Linked DNA regions of Homo sapiens: regions 1, 2, 3, 4, 6 and 7 are each linked to region 5. The links are contacts of gene promoters, found by promoter capture Hi-C in human tissues and cell types (Jung and others, 2019). All regions are on one chromosome and are shown on one strand. The core of a region is centred on a gene start or on the middle of the fragment in contact, and the rest is flanking DNA. Distances in the headings are between cores, read along the strand shown. Region 1 overlaps ENOX1 (ecto-NOX disulfide-thiol exchanger 1). Region 2 overlaps ENOX1 (ecto-NOX disulfide-thiol exchanger 1). Region 3 overlaps ENOX1 (ecto-NOX disulfide-thiol exchanger 1). Region 4 overlaps ENOX1 (ecto-NOX disulfide-thiol exchanger 1). Region 5 holds the start of ENOX1 (ecto-NOX disulfide-thiol exchanger 1). Region 6 overlaps ENOX1 (ecto-NOX disulfide-thiol exchanger 1). Region 7 overlaps ENOX1 (ecto-NOX disulfide-thiol exchanger 1).

Region 1 (2,874 bases), core at 92-2,591, 240 kb after region 5:
CCTCTGACTGCTCAGATTTCCCAACCCCCATCTCCACTCCCCATATTTCCCCATACAGAATATCCCAGGTTCCAAAATTACCTCCTCTTCCTCTTCAATATTATTACAAACTCCCATTTTTTATCATGACTACTTCTATTAGGAAGGAGCAATATCCTTAAATTAATTGGTAATAAGATATCTGTGACCAGTGAAGCTCCTCCCTAATTCTCCTAGGGCTGTATTTTCACTTTAACAGAAAATGATATGCTATTTGCTTGGATAAGCAATCATTTGTTCATTCATTAGCTCAACAAATAACTGATTGCCTAGTCTTACCTTCATGTATTAAGACAGGCAGAGGACTACAAGGTTAGGTAGTTCTTTTTGGGTAGTCAGTCCTGGACCTCAGTTAATGACCCAGGCAAAACCATTCATGTCAGGCTTATTTTGGTCCTACTGTGTATACCCAGGAGTGCCTACCATGTAGGCAGCAGCAATTTCAGAACAAATGAGAGGGGGAAGAACAGTTGCAGAGAGGAGAGGAGAAGCAAGCTGGGACATGGAGATGCAGAGAAATAAAAAGGGAGGAGAATGTATAGCCAGAAGAGCTAAATTATTTAACCAGCAAGGTTTCTTCTGACCCTAAGATTCTGTGTAAATGAGAAAGAAGAAGGGAGGGAATAAGCTAAGGAATGAAAGGGGAATGAGGAGGGTTCTAGGAATATACTAAAAGGCTGCATTGTTTTCTTTTTTTTTTTTTTTTTAGTTAAGAGCCTCTAGGTTAATAAATATCTTATGAAGTACTGTTTATCTCCTAGAGCAGAGGTGAGCCCTTTTCTATGGCTTCTAGGAATTTCAAAAATCAATTGATGGGTGGCCTCCCTGGCATGCTCCTTTCATGACATCAGAGAATGTCTCCCACAATGAAGTTGAAACTGTCAATGAATACTTCGGTGTTTTATTTTCAAGCATTTTTTTTCTTAAGTCAGGGCTCTCAAAGAGGGTTGGTAAGAGATCAGAAACCTCTCAGAGTGACAGGGCGAAAGGTCCCTGCTTCTTCCTGGAGAGGTTGGAGATGACTCAGACATCAGGGTATCAGGTAGAGACCAGGTCAGGCCAGCAGGACATTAAAATACAGAGAAGCTGAGAACGAAACCCAGCTCCTCATAAAACCAGTGTTTTCTAAACTAAAGAAGCAAATGGAAAAAAATTAAGGCCTGCGTAAAGATTATTTAAATCATTTCATTAAGCTTACCACATACCCTTTAAGTCAAAATAACCTCATCTTGTCTGAGGTGGTGTGTGGACACAATTGTGCTGGGCCCATCCTCTCCTGCACTGGCTGAGTGTGCTGTAGAAGAGGAAAGGTGTAAGGAACAGCTAGAACAGCTTTGTGGGCAATTTTGCCATCATGATCGGGTGAAATTTAAATTGATATTAAGATACCAAATGTTCTTTTGCTTTTCAGTCATCGTATTATCAAATGTAATAATCAGTTGTTGCAGCTTATGAAGCCCATGACTATCAGATTTGACTAAATTATAATGTACCTTTTAAGATAAAAGTTTTTGGTGTATAAAAATGTTTTTATCTTAAAAGATAAAAAATGGGTCAGTAGTTTCCTGAAGCAGAAATATTCTGCATAATTTTCATTTTTTTCTCTCTTTATTATTATTTTTTCTTCCAACAACTTTTGAGTCAACAGCACCTCAAAAAGATAATACATCGTGATCAAATTGGTTTCATCCCAGGGATGCAGGGATCATTTAACATATACAAGTCAATAGATGTGATACATCACATAAATAGAATTAAAAAGAAAGGCCACATAATTTTTAGAAAATAAATTATCCCCTGAACTTGATCTAATTGCTCCATTTTGAAGCCTCACCATGGACAAATGTAAACTATGTTCTGTGTTAGGTATGCTATACTTGGAAAAGTATTTGAGAAAGCATATCTTGAAACAGCATCTGTAATTTTTATTTTATTTTAAAAATCCCAGTGAAGTTAAGTTTAGGATTGTGTATCTTTTTAAGAGTTATGCAAAATTACTTAAAAAAAATACTTGTCTCTTGGATATGATAATATTTGAAAGATGTTACTGGGAAAAAGCACAATGACACCAGGGTTTTGCTCTCTAAATATGGGTTACTTATGGTCTAAACTCTTAAACAGTTAAGAAGCAGCATGTTTTGTAATACGAACTCCTTTCCTTAATAACGTAAACTGCTGATCTAAATTGCTATCGTAATGTCACAAAAGGCTCATTGGCTAGAGATGATTGATTCTTTAACTCAATACAAAGTACAACTTCTTTGCTATGTCCACATACCCTGAAGATAAGTCTTAGAAACTTTGTAAGGAGGAGAGTTTTTGTAGTTTTTGAGCACATTATCATGGGAAAATTACTTAACCCCTTTGAGGCACTGTTTTCTCACCTATAAATTGGGCCAGTAATAATTTAACCCTCTCAGAGTTTTTGTGATAGCTGAGGCACTGAGCAGTGCAGTCACATCTTATCTCAAGCAAGGATTGGATATACCTTATCTGCAGTCAAGTAGAAGATGAGAAAGATGTGTAGGCAAAACTATTCTTGACATGTGCCTAATTTCTCATAAAGAACAGCAAATGTGGTTCTCTCCCTACTTATACCATCTCTTGGGAAGTCCTCACAGCCCATTGTCCCTCCAGTATGACACCCAACTGCTGATGGACACTGGAGGAAGACACCGTGTTGAATGAGCAATAGCATATTGTGGGGCTCCAACTGTGTGTAGGATACCCAGCACCATGCCTCACACAGCTCATATTAGTTTACCTTCCCTTTATTAATATTAGTTCACCTTTTCCTGCACCCTAGAGCAGGGGTCCCCAACACCCAGGTCATAA
Region 2 (3,326 bases), core at 542-3,041, 140 kb after region 5:
GTAACTGAGGAGGGGATCCCAGGAAAAGCTCAGACTTGTTAGTCCATGCTTGGAGCTCAGAGGATTGGGACTTAGGCTGTTGCCTTAAATACAACATATCTGTAGCGCTAGGAGGCCAAGGGACTTTTGGTTTGCACTTGTGTTCTATAGTTTACAAAGTCTTTCTCATTTTGTGAGAACCCTCTGAACCAGGCAGTGTGTGTGCTACTTTTGACCTCAATTCATAGAGAAAAAATGGATTGATGCTATGTCAGGGAAATGTCTTCTTCAAGGTCATAGAGTTATTATATGATGAAGTTGGAAATCAAATCTAGATACTCTGGCTCTAAAACCTGAGCACCATTCTTGGAATCAGTGAATTATCAAAGTGTGAACTCTGCACCTCTCACCCCCAACACAAAAGCCATCTTACTAGATATTGTTTATTTGTAAGTTCATTATATTAACATATACAACACTAGAAATGGTTAGAGTAGCTTCAGAATTGGATTCATTTTATGCCTCAGCTTAGCCCCTTCTCACACAGTAAGGCATCTGTAGAACAAACTAACCAGGGTGTGAAGGTAATTTGCGTTGCCCTGCATTGTTTGCGTGTGTCTGGGAACTCTGGGTTGAGACAGATTACTTGGATGTTCTAGTTTTACTTTTATAGACAACCTATGAAAGGGGTAATTATGAGATGTAATTATTGACACTATGACAACCTGAATAAAAATTGAAGTTGTTTGTACTATTTTCCCATAGATATTAGAGCAAGACATTACAATAAATGAATTGAGTGGCCTGTTTTGTGTGTGTATGATTTGGATATCAGAGACCATCATTCCTACATGATATGACACTTTATTTGCCACCTTCACGCTTTGACATTTTTGTCATAACTAAATGTGCAGTAGAGACAGCTGTGGTCTGCGTAGGCTCTAGCACTGTGTCTGGGTCTAACCCTGAGCAATGCATTTGGTTTCAGAGCCAGTGTCGCTGATACAGGTTGCAGCCAGCACAGGGAAATCTATCACAGTAACAGCAATGTAGCCGTCACAGGGAGTCTAACCACATCCATATTCAGATAAGGAGAACGCTGAGTACTCTCACTGAAAATGATATGCAGGGACTCTGGGATAATGCTGCCTTTACACTGTTCATAAAATATGGTAAAAATAAAGCCTTAAAAGTCATGCTTGTGAAGAGTGGAGACAGGAAAATTAGAGTAGCAATTCACACAGCACACTTTTCCTTGGAGTGAGAAGTCATATCAATTTCTCAAAAACAGGTATTTCACCTCTTACAGCATCCATAAGAAGGCTAGGTCAGCCACGAGTTAGTGGCTTATGAACTCTCTTGGACCTTTGCTTAGCTGGCAAATGTCATTTCTTAGCCTTCCATCCACCCAAATCTGGGGTTTCTGTTTCCCCAGCTCTGCCCTCTGTGTTCTCTATCTCATCATCTTATTTTATTTTCTTCACAGCACTTTCTACTGTTTGCAGTTATCTAATTTATTAATTGGCTGCTTAATCTCTATCTGTCAGCTTTGAGTTGTAAGCTGCGTGGTTGCAGAAGCTGACCATGGCTCTCTGGTTCACTGTTGTTTTCTGTAGCCCAAAGAACAGTGTCTGGGCTGTGGTAGGTGCTCAATATGAATAAAAAAGATGAATCAATGAATGAATTGGTGAGTAAATACATGCTTTCCTGTTGCTTAACCCTACAGAATAGTCCCAGTACTGGGTTATGATCTTTCCCTAGTGGAAGAATCCAGAGATTCTATTGTTGCCCTAATAAATTACCACAAACCCAGTGGCTTGAACAACACAGATGTATAGTCTTAACAGTTCTGCAGGTCGGAAGTCCAACACAGTTCTCACTGGGCTCAAATCAAAGTGTCAGCATGGCTGAAGACTTTGGGGGAGATCCATGCTCTTGCCTTTTCCATTTTCTACAGGTCACACACATTCCTTGGTTGTGATGCCTTTCTGTCTTCAAAGCCAGCAATGGTGGGTCGAGACCTTCTCATTCTGCCATCTGTCTGGTTCTCTACAGCTGAAAAAGGTTCTTCGTTTTTAAGGACTGATGTGATTAGATTGAGTTTACTTGGAAAATACAGGATAATCTCCCATCTCCAGGCCATTAATCATAATCACATCTGCAAAATCTATTTTGCCATATAAGGTAACATATTCATGGGTTCCAGGAAATAGACGCTGGACATCTTTGGGGGTTTGGTGGTAGTCATCATTCTGCCTGTCACATGGATTTATTCACAAAGGGGGTATAGGGATAGTCAAGCCCAAAGCCTCATTTCTCTTCCAGAATGTATATTGCAGAACAGAGAGTCTTCCTAAGTCATTTATTCATTCCACAAGAAATATTTGTGGAACTTGTCACATTCTTCTTGATAATTTGGTTCCTGATGGCAGAGTGAGCCTAGATTGCTGTTTTGCAGGGTTGGATATGGAGACCCTGGGGAAGTTCACCTGAATTCCTAACCAAGCCTGACAATCAGAAATTGGGCTTCTAACCAGAAAGGGATCAGTGTGTCTAAAAGGGACTCAAAGCAGTTGTAGTGGTAGCAATGGTGGTGTCAGATACAGTAGTTTATTTATTTTATTCAATCTTTATAATAATCCTACAATAGAAGCACTATTATTATCCCCATTTTACACATGATGACACTAAGGCACACAAAGGTTAAATAAATTGCCTAAGTGACTGAGCCAGGAGTGACTGGCTAATGAGTGAATGAGACAGGATTTAAAATCTCAGGCAATCTAGCTCTTGACTGTGTTCCCTAACCACTGCACTTCCCTGCCCCTTACAAGGTCCATTAGAGAGTAGCCAAAGACGCCTCTGAGAGGGCCAGAATGGGTGCTGAGACCATCTATTGGCCTCCTTGGTTTTGTGAAGTAGAGAGAACATGGAATGGTAAGAAGCTTCTGCTTCCTTGGTTACCAGATCTGGGCCTGGATCAAGCCACTTCAATTCATTGAGCCTCTGTGAAGAGAAAATAGAAATTTTGCTTGTCTGCATCTCTAGTGTGGGAGAAGGATAAAACGATTATTGAGACGTGCTCTGTAAACGTTGCCCGTTACTATCTAGTGTTGTATCCATCTAAATGATGAGGCGAGAAGGGAAAGTGAGTATGATCACCTCAGTGCCCCAAGACTCTATCTGGCTTTTGTCACCCTGGGGTAAACTGGAGAGCATGATTGAGACATGAAATCTTCCCATATCCTCTGTGAGAGAGGGTGATTGATGACAGGGATTTACAGGTTAGCCTGTGACAGCATGTAATCAATCAGCGCATGAGAAGGATAGCTTGTCTTTGGTGTACA
Region 3 (3,225 bases), core at 129-2,628, 220 kb after region 5:
TTTTCTCTTGGAAAATTTAGGTGCAAAGGTACAAAATCTTATAATCTAATGAGGGAAGGGGTTTATGTGAGCATGGAAGGGCTGGTGAATTGGGGAGAATTTTTTTCCAGCCTGATTCAGTATTTTGCTTTTTGTTTATCTCTATGTATTATAATGTATATGTATGTGTATATATATATTTTTGTTTATATATAGCAACCTTCATTTTTGTCTCAGAAAATGCTCTTCATAAGTAAGTTGCCCTCTAATCTCTTAATTTTTCTTCAGCCTAGGAGACCTTTCTGCTCACTACCCCGGTGACTGCCTGCTCCTGCTTTGAATCCTCCCTTCCTTTTACCTAAGATTGTCTGACTCCTTGCGCATGCACCACCCCCACCGCCCCACCGCTTGTCTGATATATACACACACACAATAGCAAACAGACGTGTAGAGATTGCTGGGAAGGACTTAAAGATTATCCACTTCAGCCCCTTCACCTCACAGATGAGGAATTGGAGGTCTTATATTTCTCTATTTTTAAACAACCTCCTTGAAGTGTAATTTTAAGGTTTGATTTTTGTTTGTTTGTTTGTTTGTTTTTTGAGACAGAGTTTCATTCTTGTTGCCCAGGCTGGAGTGCACTGGCACAATCTCAGCTCACTTCAACCTCTGCCTCCAGGGTTCAAGCGATTCTCCTGCCTCAGCCTCCCAAGTAGCTGGGATTACAGGCATGCACTACCACGCCCGGCTAATTTTGTATTTTTTTTTTTCTTTTTTAGTAGAGGTGGGGTTTCTCCATGTTGGCAGGCTGGTCTCAAACTCCTGACCTCAGGTGATCCACCCACCTCGGCCTCCCAAAGTGCTGGGATTACAGGCGTAAGCCACCGCGCCCGGCCTACTTTTAAGGTTTTAAGGCAATAATAATTAAGCACCCGATTCCCACCTTGAGTTCACATCTAGTTGAGAAGCAAACATGAGAGTGAGACAGATGGAGTGTATACCATAAGCTTTATTACCAGCATGACCGAATTGGAGAATGTGACTTACATCTGTGACCACTTGGACTTAATACAACTCCCTTCTATGTAAACTGAGCCCCCAGTTACAGGCATTGGTAGACAGCCGTCATCCTCCTCTGCTGTGGCAGGCTGCTTAAAGCATAACAGAATAGGAGATTCTGTGCCTTTTATGAATTTAAGGGAGGAAGATAATGAGCTAGTCATGTTCAATTTCTTCTCCCAAACTCAAAAATCAGATAAATTATTCCTTCCCAAGAAGAAGTGAATGAGAAGCCAGAGACTGTATCTTCTGGTGGAGTTGATGTTCTTTCCCCTTTATAGAAACATGAGAAATGAGGGAATAGGCATTTATCAACAAAAGGGATTATGGAACCATTTGCCTAGGGACATCTTGCCTAAAATATACAATATGTAAAATGTTGTCGTGCAAACAGTAGAATCCTTCCTGCTTTGCCCATTAGCTGATTCCTTCTCACCACACCTTTCCATCCCTCTTCCCCTCCACTTCTCACCCAGATGGCCACTGAGGGCTTCTTGCTTAAGCCACAGTTTCTGTAATGAGTCTGGATGAAAGGCACTCATTCACTCTGACTGACTGCAGTTTGTTCTATCCCGGGCTTTTGCCTCCACTGAAATTGCTCTCGATGTCGTGCTTTGCCCTGCACACCCCTTTCTTCATATTAGAAAATTCATCTCATCTGTTTAGCTTTCATCCCACTTAACCATTATGAGATGCTAACATGATCGATACCCCTTCTTATTTGAAATTTTAATGTCCTTGGCCTCTGAGGTCCTCCAGGTTCTTCCTTATCATTCTTCCCAGTCTTCATCTATCCACATGTTCTTCATTGGCTCCTAAATTTGGGGCCAAATTTTTAGTGAACTACAGGGTTCTTGCCACTTTTTCTAGTTTTTCATTTCTATGTGCATCTATGGCTTCCGCTACTGCCTATGTGTTGCTGACTCTCAGATGACCATCTTCAGCTCCAAACCCCTTTCCTAACTCTAAGCCCAGATTTCCCAAACCCTCTAATTTCTTCTGTGGTACATCTAACTGGGACTTTGAAACGTGACTATCTCCAAATGAAACAAATGGCATCTCACAATGCAGTCTGCTCCTGTTTTTCATTTTCCTTTCTTGGATAATATTATCACTATTCCCTTTTTCTCCCTAATGGAAAATCTTAAAGGTATCCTCAGTTATATTGAATGTGTCCTAAACTATGCTGGGTGCTAAGAAAACAGAAAATTAAGACAAAGTTCCTGCTCTCAACCAGTTCACAGATACTAATTTAAACTAACAAAGCACCTGATTCGTGCAACTATAGAAATATTTATGGGAACAGTGCAGAGCTAACCCAGAGAAGGGAATGATTAACTTTTTCCAGGGTGTGGTGTGGGATGATTATGAACTGGGTTTTCAAAACCAAGTCAGAGTTTGTCAAGCAGACAAAAAAGCAAAAACACCAGTGAAGAGAAGCAGAACTTTAGAAACATCGTGGTGTAGTTAAGGAGCTTTAAAAGGCTCATTGTTGGAGAATGATGATTGGTTGTATGAAGCTGAGCAAAACAGCAGGGACCAGATGGAGAAATACAGTTTTTTTTTTAAACCACTAAGGAGCTTGCCCTTTATATTCTAAGGAAAAGATTCTAATAAAGGATGAGTTGTCGTCTCAATCTGCCTCTTCATGCAGTAATGCCAGGGGACCCTTCCTCTTCTGAGAGTGTCACTGGGAGTCTCTTTTATCTTAATCTGTGAGCTACAATGAAGTCAAAGGTTTCAAGAAGAGAACATAGGTCTCTGAGCCATAGCAAAGAGTCTGAGGTATTGATGCAAGGGAACAGAATGCAGAGAATAACCAGCAAATTGATTAATGAAAGTGCCCTAGTTCTATCTATCTATCTCTACTTACCTACCTACCTACCATCCATTCACCTCTCTGTCTAATTTATCTATCTATCTGTCTGCCCTAGGTGATCTTTATATGCTTATGTGATATGCTTCCTAAGAGAGCCTTATGAGAATAAGGAACCAGGGATGGAAAAAGCAACCATGATCCAATTTAGAAAGGTCATTTTTATATCAGTATAGCTTGGAAAGAGGTGAGGAAGGGCTATTGAAGTATTTCAGATAAAAGGTAAGTGAGCGGATGGCTGCATTTCTATCTAAGGGTATACAGCCATTGATTTTCTATTACTTTTGTTTTTAAAGCTTCTTTTCCAAAGA
Region 4 (2,988 bases), core at 305-2,804, 180 kb after region 5:
TTTTCTTAATGGAAAATAAGTTTTCCCCAACTCCATCTAATAAATGTTGAATAAGTACTTTAAAAATATCATTTTGAATGGGTACCAAACCTTTAGCCTTTCTCAGCATTCACATGATCAAATCTCAGTTGGACAGATTGTGTGGGGTGGGTGTGGAGGATGAATGAGCAGGTACAAGCATACACAGTTGAATACACAGCACAAGAAAAGTGCTCCCATGCATGTAATTAGATGAGTCCCAGTTTGAAAAAGTTACAATTTATTTATCACCTGCAAAATGTTGCAAAAATATTACATAAATGCCAAGAGCACTTTGACTTTACAATATTATGTTGGAGAACTATCTGGACCCTATCCTGATGGCCAGGGCAGATGGTAGATATCATGTGCTAAGAACAGGCACTTTGCAATTCCCAGCATTTGGAAATCTGCCATATAAATTTGAAATGGGTCAAAGTGAAATGCTGAGATTCTTTTATACTTATGAGAAGGTGCAAAATTTCAAAACTTGGGAAAATAGGAAGTTATTTCCTGATAAAACAACTCTAAAAATGTTTGGAACCAAAGATTAATTTATCTTGCTCTTCTCCAGATGGACAGAAGATGGAAAAATTTCTTACATGAATGAAGTAAGTCCCTAGTAGTAGATTAATGTTTTTCTTACTTTTGTAATGGTCCTTTTAAATATTTGTGTTGATACACCTTACATTAATTGTTATGCCATAATAATGAAGTTATTACTTTTCAATGGAATAATAATATGTGTGCAAGCTTTAATGAGAGTCTGCAAGGAAGTGAAAATAAAATAAAATGACATGGTTTATGTTACAAATAACAAAAGAACATTTTTCCAATTGCATGTGTGACATTATATGTGGAAAAATAATTAGATGCTACATGTGCTATACTTTATAATTGCTTTGCCTTTTAGATTTGAATCTTAGACTTTTATCTCTTCTATGAGGTTGTTGTCATTAGATGAGAGGAGGCAGCATCAGAATGGTAGTGAAGAGATTCTAGAAAGCTCAAACTGTATATTCACAGTCACATAACTCACATCCAGAATTATTCATTGTACCAAAACATAAATTACTTACAAAATATAAATACAGCCACAGTGACTACTTTATTAAATTATAACCACTGGGTGGAGAAAATTTATGAAAATAAAAAAGAACCTTTAAGCTATCTATACAGTTGCAAATGAGTTATTAAGGTGTAGATAACCTAAGAAGTATCTTATGCAGGGGTAAAAGGAAAAAAAGCTTCATTCACAGATACATACAAATAGAAAGTAATGGATTGTGATTTTTTGGTTTGCTAACCATAAAGAAGTACCTATGTATATCCACCTGATCGTAAAAAGACACAGAGACAGGAAAAATGTCAGATCAAAGATTAGACTATAAAATACAAGGAAAGGGGCTCTAGCACTTACTGAGTGCCTGCTCTGTGTCAGGCACTGTGCTGGACATTTTATACACATTGTAATTTGAGAACGGAGAGTTCTGAATAGCAGAATAACTGGCAGAGCTTAGAAGGGGTGATGCCAGTTGGTTTAGAAATTCAAGTGATGAAAGGAGGTGGGTAGCTGACACTGACGTTAGAGGAGGCCCAGCAATAAGGAGTAACATTTAGGTCAGACCTGGACACTCTGCAGGGTGCCCGACAGGAAAGGTCTTCAGCTGTTGCTACCTGTATACCTCACTGATGGCTAATGGCGGTTTTGTGCTGGTTCAAAGCACATTAGTCATGAAGCAGGTCTTTGGTTCATATATAGGATGGGAGGAAAAAGGGAAAAGACCAAAAAGCAATCATGACATCAGGGTATTTATATCTGTTATCTATCCAGCCCCTCATCCACCCAATTTGAGATGGCAGAAGGCAGTTCTTGGTTAACTCCTATGACCAGTAGCCCTGAGCTCCTGTCACACTCATTTCTAGCTGCAGCTGTGCTTATTGTTGTGGCCCAGAACATCAGCTGGCTTGGAATGATGTCCCTCAGTCATCAAGAAGAAGTTGTATAATATTCAGTGTACTCTTTCAAAGATAAACACGGGAAAATGTATTCTAGAAAGATGAGTTTCATCTTTTCATTGGATTGGCGATTCCTTGAGGGAAGAAATGATCTCAGTCATCTTTATATCCTTTGACATCTAACACAATGTTTTTTACATAATAGTTAAAATATATGTGACATTAAATAGGATAGAAATAACTTCAGTTTCGGGGAAAAAGTCATATCATATTGTTTAAAGTCCGGTGTTCTTATTCTCAGGAAATTCAACCAGAAATGACACTTTGCCCTCCCCATGCTCGTACCCATTCTTAGACCTCAAAATAATGATGCTTTCATTTATTGAATTAAGGAGTCAATTACTGAAATGTCTTTAGTGAAGAGGATATGTTTCTAAAGTATTTTTCAGGAACACATAACAAAGGAAGATATCGTAAAGTGGTGTCACATGATGGAATGATTCCCAGCCATTCTGCATCATACATGCATGCCTGTTCCTGGATGTTTCTCTGCTCAGTGACTTGGTGCTTCCAGCCTTAAGCCATTGCAACTCCCTGAGCTCAAGAGAGGATTAGACAGATATTACCCAGAGACAAAGACCACAGACATTTCACAGGATGTCTCTACCAGAGGTTTTATCAGAGAATCCTTATATCTACCCATGCCTAACACATACCTCTGAAGATTCCAAACTTACCTTCAAGAGAATCAGCATCATGCATTAGAAAGAGCAGTAGGGTCTTGAGTCTGCAGGCTGGGACTTCAGCAACTGTACTTGCCCTAATTGGTGAGCAGTAACCTCTGTGAGCTTCAGTTTTTATACTTATCTACATGCATATAATGAGTATTATAATATTCAGGATTTGCAATATTTGCTCTACAAAATTGTTGGTCAGATGATATGTAATAATGTATCTCATATATTTGGGGATTTTTAAGCACTAAACACACATCAAGCCAGGGTTTTCTAT
Region 5 (3,222 bases), core at 171-2,670:
ACACTGACTTTCACATTTTGAGAGGTTAGGTTCTGAGCTTTGGCCCCCTCACACCCAGGGCATCCCACTGGGGTCCCTGCAGAGTGCTTCTACATGCATCCTTTGTTAAGGGTGCACAATGGATAAGTATTATTTTCTTTCTTTGCATTGGGGTTCTGACCGCCAGGGGGAAAAATAGCCACACACAAGGAAATGGCATAAGTTAAAATCAGGCAAGCCTAGTGGGGTGGTAATGACTTTCCCAGCATCCAAGTCTTTGCCTTCAGGTTACGTGAAGCTAGAAAACAATGTCATTCATTCAACATTTACAGGGAACTCACAAAGTACAGAGTACTATGCTAAGCACTGGAAGGCATGCAAAAGTGTGCAAAACACAATCCCTGCATTGAGGATTCCTGCCAGAAAGGGTATTTCAAGTATTACCCAGACCTTACGACCCTTGAAGAAATGCTTGTGTGAATAAAATCCCACTCAGAATTTAAAATAAGCAAGGAAAAGTATACTACTAAGACAATATATCTGTTAAGAGGCAGAGAATGTAAATGTGCTTTAAACATTTATTTCTGAAGTATTACAATGTAGTTGGGATGGAGGATCGGGGGATGTGGGTGTGTGTGGGGAGGTGGTGGGAGCGGTTCTTGGACGAGCCTGACTCTAAGGAGGCACTGCTTAGATGCCTGCACAGCTAAGTTGAATCCTAACAAAGAGGAGGCCGGCATTCTTACCTGGGAAGTGGGTAACTTTGAGAAAAAGTAGCCTCCAAGGAGGAAAAAAAGGCAACATGTCACCTGGGGTTAGGATCCCCTCACCCTTACCAACCTGAATGCTGACCGCACCCCGGCCGAGCCACTCTGGGCCGCACACCCCGCATCATCTGCCCAGGCCACGCGGCCCAATTCCACCGTCTACCCCAAGCCCACAATCCTGTAACACGCCCGCTCCAGCCTGGAGTCGGCCACGTGCGCCCGGGTTCTTCTCTTGGCCCTTCAGCGGGCCCGGCCCCTCCAAGGTCGCCGTAGCAACCGTGCGGTCCCTCTCTCGGTTCCCCCGCTCCCAGTAGAGCAGTCCCGACCGCGGCGGCGGTGGCGGGAGCGAGCGGCCTCGGCCCCTCCCGAGAGGGGGCAGCGCGACCGTGGGCTGCGGGCGCCGCCTCTGCTGCATCGGTGGCTGCGCGCTCCGCTCGGCTCTGCCGGGCTGGGATCCGGAGCCCTAGCGCGCCTCGCTGACTTCCCCTCCTCCTCTGCTGCCGCCCCGTGGGCAGCTTCTCCAAGCGAGACACGCGTTCGATCCTCCTTCCCCGCGTTTACGGATTTCCGGGGTCGTAGAATTTTGCCTCGGTCCCTACGAGCATCTCTCGGCCTCTCTCCCCCTCCCCTCGCGACTCCCCCACCCCGTGGGCGCGCGCGCACCCATACACTCACACTCGCAGGCGCGCGTGCGCACGCCCGCGCGCCTCCAGCCGCGGAGTCTCCAGCGCCCCTCAGCAGATCCCCGCTCTCCCGGGCGCCGCTACTCACACAGGCTTCCAGCCGCCACGGGGCGTCCTCTGTCTGCTGCAGCGGCGGCGGCAGCAGAGGGAACGGCGACTGCAGCCCGGCCGCGTCTCCCAGCTCCGTGCCCGGGACAGAGTCCGGGAGAAGCAAAGGAGGAGGAGGACGCCGAGGCTAGGAGGAGCCGCGCCGCGCCCGGCGCCCCACTCCGCGCAGCGGGTTGCCTCCGCTCCCCATACGGCGGCCCCAGGTAAGCAGCTCCGGGGCCCGCAGCCTCCCTGGGGCGTCCGGGCTCCGAGCCGGGGTCCTCTGGTCTCACCCCCGCCACGGCACCTGGATCTAGACTGAGAGGGGAGTGGGCGAGGGGGGAGGGGAGTGGAGCTAGAGGTGAGGCTGGTGAGGAGGGGTGCGTGGACGCGTGGGGGCTTCGGTGCAGCCCCCACGCCCTTCCCCGCCGTGCCCCGTCTCAAGCTCCCTCACTTTTACGCGCCCGGGGGTGCCCAGCGCCCCAGACAGCTGTTCCCCGCTCTCCCCTCCGCCCGCCAGCCAGTGTCAGCTCCGGGCTCCGCGCCCGCCGCGCGCCAGTCACCTCCCCTGCACCTTGGACAGCGCACCCCGCACCCGTCTCCCCCTGCGGGCGTCGCCCCCGGGACCCGTTCCTGCCCACACAGTGTTCCCGCTGCCCTCTTCTTTCAGGTTTTCACCCTCCCGCTCTGCATCCCTTTTCCTCCAGCCTTGGCGGACTCCGCTCTGCTGCGGGCCGGAAACTTTCCTCCCCGCCTAGTCTGCGCTGGGTACTGTTGTTATTCGTGACTGTCCCCTCTCGCGGGGAGCTCGGACACCTTGGACAGGTCTTCGTCGGCGGGAGCGCGCCCTGCCTGGCCCAACGCGAGGTAAAGGAGGCACTGGGGCAGCCGGACTCGGCCGCTGCCAGGGTGCAGAGCCCGCGCCTCGGCCGCTGGACGCCGGCCGCCTCCCCGCCTCTCCGGACCCGACACGTGCGAGCCTCCCACGGACGCGGCCCCTCCCAGACCACCCCACGTCCTCCCCCTGCACGGCCACAGCCACCCCATAGGTTGGACACCCGGGGCTCGCGGGTCCTGATTGGCTGAAGGCGTAACCCCGCCCTCTTTCGGAAGGGGGGTGGTTCTGGAGTGTTGTGGTTGTCATCCCGCGGCGAGCACATGGGGAAAGTGGGGTCGACAGGTGGGCAAGCCCAGCTCTGTGGAATCTCTGCGTCTCACTGTATAGCCACTGAGCCACGCTTCTTCACCCAGATACACTCCTGCTTCTCTCCTTTTCTCTCCCTCAATCTTTCACTGCTGTAACATTACATGAAAAAAACTGGCTTTGTAATCCCAATTTTGTTAAGATTGCATTTGTTTGGTGGTAGCAATTTTTAAAAGCAGACCCAGGAGAATGCAGGAAATACGTGCGTATGGAAAGGTTCCTGGCCAACTGGGCTGCAGATTTGAGTCTGGTAGTTTGGAGAAAGCAATGAAGCGTGCTTAAGGGATCTGAAGAGGGTGGAGAAAGTGGGAAGGAAATTGATTCCTGGAGGAGAGACGCAGGTGAGCGAGCTTGGAAAGCTGAGCTGGTGGGCCCGCTCGAGAGGTGGGTGCGTGCTGTTGGAGACGGCTCTGTCAAGCAAAGTGGTAATATTGGCTGGTACTTAGTTTATGGTTAACACACTCTGCTTTTGTTTTACTAGCGTTGCCACTTTGATAGAGAC
Region 6 (3,197 bases), core at 238-2,737, 250 kb after region 5:
AAGGTAAAATATTATCCCTGGAAACTGATCAGACTCTGTACCTGGTGTGGAAATCACTGAACTATTCTGGGAGAGGAAAGGGGTAGACATCAGGGCTGTGGACGAGGAGTGTGGTGGTTGGAAATTTTAACTCAGCAGTTGCCAGCAACACTGAGCCTGTTCTTCAGAACACAAGCCTGTAGCCCAGGTGCAGTTATCCTAGGCCCAGAGGAGCCTGGTTAAGGACCCAAGTGGGTTGCTACTTACTCCACTATGTTTTCTTGAGAAATTATTTCTTGAGGATCTAAAGTGTGTTTGTGGTTGGACTCATACAACGGAAAGGGTATGTTGGATTAAGGAGGCTGTGGCTTGGTTTACAACAGTAAAAGCCAGTGCAAATTTTTGGAGGACAAATTCAACTTTTGCACTTGAAAATCACTAATAAAGATTCCCACACTCATTTTACACTAAATTACGGAATAAACAGCATCAATGTTCACAGTTTGAGAACCTTACATGGCTGTACTGTCATTTAGTTCTACTCTCTTTAGCATTCTGGCAAGGATATCCTGGCCTACTAAAAAATGGGTGCTCAAACGCCTCCATAACAATGAAAATTCCTCAGTACTTCAGAATACATTTTAGGGAATATAGTCTGCTTCAGAGTTACTTAGGTAGGTCTCCCAGAGACCATTCGAGTTTAATGAGGCTAACTCTGTATATATTTAATTTGTTAAGTAATATAAGGCATGAGAGAATGGCATTTTATAGAATTTGTATGCTTTCAAACTCTGGGCAGATGTTTTTTAATTTCTAAACTAATTTTAAAAATTAATTAGTGTAAGTAATCTGATTTAAGAAGTCTAGAGTTAGAAAACGTATAAACTGGGCCATGTCATTAAGGGCCGTGTGCATCACCAGTGATGGACTCAGAGGTAGTGAGGACAGGAAGGTAGTTGGGTGACAAAACTCATGTACCCAGGACTCTACCTGATAGAATGCCAATCAGAAATGGAAAAAATATATCAGAGACTTCATGAGAGCTAAAGGAAAATACTCGATTTATTGAAATAAATTGTATTCCAACTTCTTTCAGTGTTTTTCTGTGGAAATCCTAGAAAAATGACACAAAATATTGAGAAGGGAGAAAAAAACTCAGCAGGAGAATGAATGTAGGCACCCATAGCTGAGGGGGCTTTATCTAGTCCTAGATCCTCTTCTTCAATCAGCCCTCCTCCTGGGGGAAGATATGATGACCATGAACTGTGGCTCCAAAATCAGGTCATTACTCACCGGGTGCACATTTCTCACCAGGCCCTTTAGGATTTACGTAGTAGTCCTCGTTTTCAAGAAATGTATGTATATTCCAGGGCTAAATAAATTAAGGCATGTCCATGAAAAAGATCACTGTGCTTTCTGTAAAAGTGCTGTTATAAACTGCACGTCTCAGACTTTTTCTCAGTACTTCTTAATACTCGTAAAAATTATTTGGGGCTTCAAAAAGCTTTTGTTCATGTGGTTATATCCATCAATACTGTATTAGAAATGAAAATAGAAAATTTTAATATATATATTTAATATATTTGTATATATATTTACACATTTAAAAATAAAACACATTGTTTAACATAAGATACTCTTTAAAAATATATTTTTGAAAACAAAACATATAACAAGAAGGTTAGTATCCTTTCACATTTTTGCAGATCTTTTTAGTGTCTTACTCTGGCTTGATGGAAGACATTTGGATCCTCGTAGCTGCATTACTATTCAACCTGTTACGATGCTTCAGTGAGGAAAATGGAGAAAATCCAGCCTCAGAAATATAAGTAGTTGTAAATAGAGGAGTGTTTTAATAATTTCTTCAGATAACTTTGGATATTGTTCTTTGATACTACATCAACAATCAAAATCTGCCTTGTTTCTTTTGAATCTTATAGCAGTTTTACCAACCATTGCTTTTGCCCCATCGGTGCAAATGTCAACACAGTAAAAAAGGCAAAAAACATTTTAGTATTATGAAAATAGACTTAGCCTCCCAGACCATAAAAAAGGATCTATCAGGGACATCTAGGGTTCTGTGGACCATACTTTGAGAACCACTGTCATAGAAGAACATTTTAAAATGTAAAAAAAGTCCACAGTGCATTGTTAAGTGACAAAGGAACAGAATTGTTATTAACATTATAGTTTAAGAGTTACAGATTTTAAATTAAAAATATGAATAATAAAGAGAAAAACTGGAAAAGTATATACCAAAATGTTAAACTGGATAGAAAATAATACCATTTTATTTTCTTCTTTTTCTTTATTTTAACAGAGCTATTTATTCAGTCTTTAACATGTTAAAAATTAAAACTTTTTTAACTTTCTTTTTTTAAATTTTATTTTATTATACTTTAAGTTTTAGGGTACATGTGCACAACGTGCAGGTTTGCTACATATGTATACATGTGCAATGTTGGTGTGCTGCACCCATTAACTCGTCATTTAGCATTAGGTATATCTCCTAATGCTATCCCTCCCCCCTCCCCTCACCCCACAACAGGCCCCAGTGTGTGATGTTCCCCTTCTTGTGTCTGTGTGTTCTCATTGTTCAATTCCCACCTATGAGTGAGAACATGCGGTGTTGGGTTTTTTGTCCTTGCGATAGTTTGCTGAGAATGATGGTTTCCAGCTTCATCCATGTCCCTACAAAGGACATGAACTCATCATTTTTTATGGCTGCATAGTATTCCATGGTGTATATGTGCCACATTTTCTTAATCCAGTCTATCGTTGTTGGACATTTGGGTTGGTTCCAAGTCTTTGCTATTGTGAATAGTGCCACAATAAACATATGTGTGCATGTGTCTTTATAGCAGCATGATTTATAATCCTTTGGGTATATACCCAGTAATGGGATGGCTGGGTCAAATGGTATTTCTAGTTCTAGATCCCTGAGGAATTGCCACACTGACTTCCACAATGGTTGAACTAGTTTACAGTCCCACCAACAGTGTAAAAGTGTTCCTATTTCTCCACATGCTCTCCAGCACCTGTTGTTTCCTGACTTTTTAATGATCACCATTCTAACTGGTGTGAGATGGTGTCTCATTGTGGTTTTGATTTGCATTTCTCTGATGGCCAGTGATGATGAGCATTTTTTCATGTGTTTTTGGCTGCATAAATGTCTTCTTTTGAGAAGTGTCTATTCATATCCTTCACCCACTTTTCAA
Region 7 (3,309 bases), core at 717-3,216, 200 kb after region 5:
TGAGATCTGGTCTTCTGTTGTAGATTCTGAGGGGAGACAATTATTTTCTTGCTATATTTATCCTGAGAGTAGGCAGGGACAGGTAGGCTTCCTATCTGTTTCCTCTGCAACAGGCTATTGGCTTTTGGTGCTCTCTTTCACTGAGGGTGAGGTTGTTTCTAGTACCCGTTGAATTTAGGGTCTCAGACTTAACAGCACTACTTTCTGCAGACCCTTTGCTTTTTTTTTTTTTTTTTTTTTTTCCATTAATGTCCAAAGCTCTGGGTTCCTGGTTTGGTCATTTTTTTCCTGCATGGAAGGCCCAACTTCAGGGTTTGCTTAGCATTCTTGTTTTAGTTTGTAGGTTTCATCTTTTGTTAGCTTCCCTTGTTTTCTGGAGAGCTCAGCAATGTGTTTATCTGTAAGTTAGCTGTTTATCCATCATGCAAATGTTTTATGAAAGGAGAGCTTTCCTGAATATTTAGCCTACCAAGGATTAGAAGTCCAAATCTGTACCAGTGCTCTTTGCCATTAAAATACCACTTCTCCCTCACCCCACCTCTGGCAAGTGCATATGGTTAAGAGACACCAAGACTTGATAATTGAAAACAATCATATCTAAATCGCTTCCATTGGTTTTAAAATTTTGTTCCATGCAACTTTTGCTGGGGCCATAGAATGAAGGGTTAGGATGCGAAGTGCCCCACATCTGCCACATTGGCATCACCAGAGCAGCCCTGTTTTCATCATTTGTTTATTGAGGATCTGAGCAGAATTTCACCTCCAAGAACAAAAACTTGAAACTAGTGTAGTCTATCTGACACAGTAATGAGGAAACCACGGCTCAGAGGCCATATGTCTAGGAGGTATGGGAATGAGGCTCCAGTAGGACTTTCAACTTCAAATTCCAACCTCAACTTCCCTATATTGAAGTGTCAGATTGTATTTTAGAGATCATACTGGTCCACATTACAGGGTTGTATTTTAATCTTATTCATTATTTTTTTAAGGGTTATATGGATTTCTCAGCCACACTCACATCAGAGGGAAAAAGTAGATTGTTGTAAGCGTTATGACGATTACTGATTGTCATTATCATGTAAAAGAAATGGAGATCTTAAAGAGTAATGTGACTTTTTTGATCTTATAGTGATTGAATGCACTAAGACTATGATCCAGATGTTTTCACTCCAAAGCACTTATCTATACATTTTGCTTTAATAAGATAATGTTCAATCTGTCATGAAAGTATGTCAAAAAATTTTAGATGTATTTGTATGCTTTAATTTTACTAGGTCAATATGAGAAAATGAAATTAACTATATATGTTAATTAACAGAAATATACTTAATCTGGACTGAAATTTTTTAAGGAGTTAATTAGAGATGAAATTTTTTGCTAAGCTTATCCCGTTTCACTTCAGAAGCATAATTTGGGTCTCCCTTTCCATTGCTTTGTTAGAAAGGCAGATAACTTAAAATGCAGTCTCTGCCTTCAACTGTCTTTCCTGTTATAGATTTTTTTTTTTGGAAAATGCAAAGAGAATTCCATAAATGGAATTGGAGGATACCTCCTAAAACTATTTCCACATGGTTTATCTAAATCATTGTTTCTGATATTTATGGCTTCTAAAGTGAAGTTGTATCAACTAATAGTTGAAGAATAACTGTATTTATTTTTACTTTGAATGAAATTGTTATGTACCCACATAAATATATAACATGTTTAAAAATAAAACTCAGAGAATTTTCAGAAGCTCTGATTTCAGTCTAATGGTTCCAATTATGAAGTGGAACATCAAGTCAAGATGAGCTATACTGTCAGTGCATTAGACAGCTCTTTGCAATAGGTGATGTTTTTATTATTCCAGAAAAAATATACTGATAGACTATCCTAGCCATCATAAAGATTGGAATTGACATGTAAGTACTCTATAGGTAAAAAGCCATTCTCACCTGTCAGGGATATGTGTCAGCAATATAGGGCTGTTATCAAGAAGGTGAACATGATCTGGGATTGCATTAACCAGAATGTATGTAGTACACAAGAACCATGAAATTTACTCACTGTGTTCACCATTGATAAGGTCTATGTTAGAGCCTAATTTTGAGCTCCATATTTTAAACACAATATTAGGAAATTGGAGATGGGCCAGAGAAAAGTAATGGATGATTTGAAAGTAAAAAACTTATCTATGCTGAAAATTGAAAGAAAGTGGAATTCTTTATAACCAAGAAAGGAAAGCATAGAAGTAGTTTTGCGTGGGTCCTCATCTGGAGCAAAATTGAGACTGACAAGTGCTTCTTACCCTAAATCTATCTTTTAAAATGAAGGTCTTAGCATTAGATGAAGTGGCCAGGATATCAGAGCTGATTGTTCTTTTACTATTTCTTTTTTTTTTTTTTTTCTGAGATAGTCTCGCTCTGTCGCCAGACTGGAGTGCAGTGGCACAATCTTGGCTTGCTGCAACCTCCAACTCCCTGGTTCAAGTGATTCTCCTGCCTCAGCCTCCTGAGTAGCTGGAATTACAGGCACGTGCCACCACGCCCAGCTAAATTTTTTTTTTTTTTTGTATTTTTAGTAGAGACAGGGTTTCACCATGTTGTCCAGGAGGGTCTCGATCTCCTGATCTCGTGATCCACCTGCCTCAGCCTCCCAAAGTGCTGGGATTACAGGCGTGAGCCACCGCCTCTTTTACTATTTCTTAAATCTTGCACCTGCTCACTGAAAACACAGGAGTGTGAGGACATGGTGTCTGACTGGGCGGGTATCAACTGCTAATTCTGAAAGTAATTCCAAAGCCAAATATGAGCTGAAAGTAAAAGTAAGCTAATGTGGCAGGAAAGAAGGTAGGCTAGCGGTTATGAGAAAGGAAGTCTTGCCCCCTCCTCTTCATTCAGAGGGAGGCCTCAGCTAGCCACTGCAGACAAAGAGATGAAGAGAGGTCCCAGCCCTCAAGGAGCTCACTGTCAAGAGCCCGCCAACACAGTTGGTTTAGTACTGAAAGATATTTAGGGGTTTGTCAGTTAGAGGAGCAGTGAGAGAACAGCAGACAAAGGCACAGAGTCATGTTGAAGCACCAGGTATGAATGTCATGCTGGTCAAGCAGCAAGTTTGACCAGGAAGCAGACATTACAGTTGGATGCCTAGGTAGGTGTCAAACTGTGAAAGATATTTTATCAGGTAAAGAAAGGTGATTTTCATTCTGCTGTCAATGGCAAGCCATTTGTCTTGAGATATTTCAGATTTATGTCTTAGAAAGACCCTCTGGGGCAGTTTGGTGAATGGCCTGCCCAGCTTGGGGTTGGCGAAGGGAGTGGCCTGAGCAGA

What was found. Contacts are between HindIII fragments. The study calls those that stand out against the background at their distance.
Region 1: a contact is called between a fragment that was not itself captured here and the fragment with the promoter of ENOX1 in region 5, in 1 of the 25 tissues and cell types used here (lymphoblastoid cells).
Region 2: a fragment that was not itself captured here is called in contact with the fragment with the promoter of ENOX1 in region 5 in 2 of the 25 tissues and cell types used here (heart left ventricle and stomach).
Region 3: a fragment that was not itself captured here is called in contact with the fragment with the promoter of ENOX1 in region 5 in 3 of the 25 tissues and cell types used here (H1 embryonic stem cells, dorsolateral prefrontal cortex and hippocampus).
Region 4: a contact is called between a fragment that was not itself captured here and the fragment with the promoter of ENOX1 in region 5, in 3 of the 25 tissues and cell types used here (dorsolateral prefrontal cortex, hippocampus and mesenchymal stem cells).
Region 6: a fragment that was not itself captured here is called in contact with the fragment with the promoter of ENOX1 in region 5 in 2 of the 25 tissues and cell types used here (dorsolateral prefrontal cortex and mesenchymal stem cells).
Region 7: a fragment that was not itself captured here is called in contact with the fragment with the promoter of ENOX1 in region 5 in 3 of the 25 tissues and cell types used here (dorsolateral prefrontal cortex, lymphoblastoid cells and mesenchymal stem cells).

Annotation. Positions count from the first base shown.
Region 1 is chr13:43,550,219-43,553,092 of GRCh38, reverse strand. All of the region lies in intron 2 of ENOX1 (ecto-NOX disulfide-thiol exchanger 1), which reads left to right. Among named protein-coding and RNA genes, the nearest start is that of ENOX1-AS2, 100 kb to the right of the region's middle. The HindIII fragment of the contact is 3,515 bases long and covers 1-2,874 here.
Region 2 is chr13:43,646,584-43,649,909 of GRCh38, reverse strand. The region is part of intron 2 of ENOX1 (ecto-NOX disulfide-thiol exchanger 1); the gene reads left to right. Among named protein-coding and RNA genes, the nearest start is that of ENOX1, 140 kb to the left of the region's middle. The HindIII fragment of the contact is 7,722 bases long and covers 1-3,326 here.
Region 3 is chr13:43,569,047-43,572,271 of GRCh38, reverse strand. The region is part of intron 2 of ENOX1 (ecto-NOX disulfide-thiol exchanger 1); the gene reads left to right. Among named protein-coding and RNA genes, the nearest start is that of ENOX1-AS2, 120 kb to the right of the region's middle. The HindIII fragment of the contact is 4,751 bases long and covers 1-3,225 here.
Region 4 is chr13:43,607,524-43,610,511 of GRCh38, reverse strand. All of the region lies in intron 2 of ENOX1 (ecto-NOX disulfide-thiol exchanger 1), which reads left to right. Among named protein-coding and RNA genes, the nearest start is that of ENOX1-AS2, 160 kb to the right of the region's middle. The HindIII fragment of the contact is 4,739 bases long and covers 1-2,988 here.
Region 5 is chr13:43,785,170-43,788,391 of GRCh38, reverse strand. It overlaps ENOX1 (ecto-NOX disulfide-thiol exchanger 1), which reads left to right and starts at 1,420. Exons shown (of 17, transcript NM_001347969.2): 1 at 1,420-1,740. The HindIII fragment of the contact is 9,406 bases long and covers 1-3,222 here.
Region 6 is chr13:43,531,248-43,534,444 of GRCh38, reverse strand. All of the region lies in intron 2 of ENOX1 (ecto-NOX disulfide-thiol exchanger 1), which reads left to right. Among named protein-coding and RNA genes, the nearest start is that of ENOX1-AS2, 84 kb to the right of the region's middle. The HindIII fragment of the contact is 6,928 bases long and covers 1-3,197 here.
Region 7 is chr13:43,586,150-43,589,458 of GRCh38, reverse strand. The region is part of intron 2 of ENOX1 (ecto-NOX disulfide-thiol exchanger 1); the gene reads left to right. Among named protein-coding and RNA genes, the nearest start is that of ENOX1-AS2, 140 kb to the right of the region's middle. The HindIII fragment of the contact is 3,281 bases long and covers 326-3,309 here.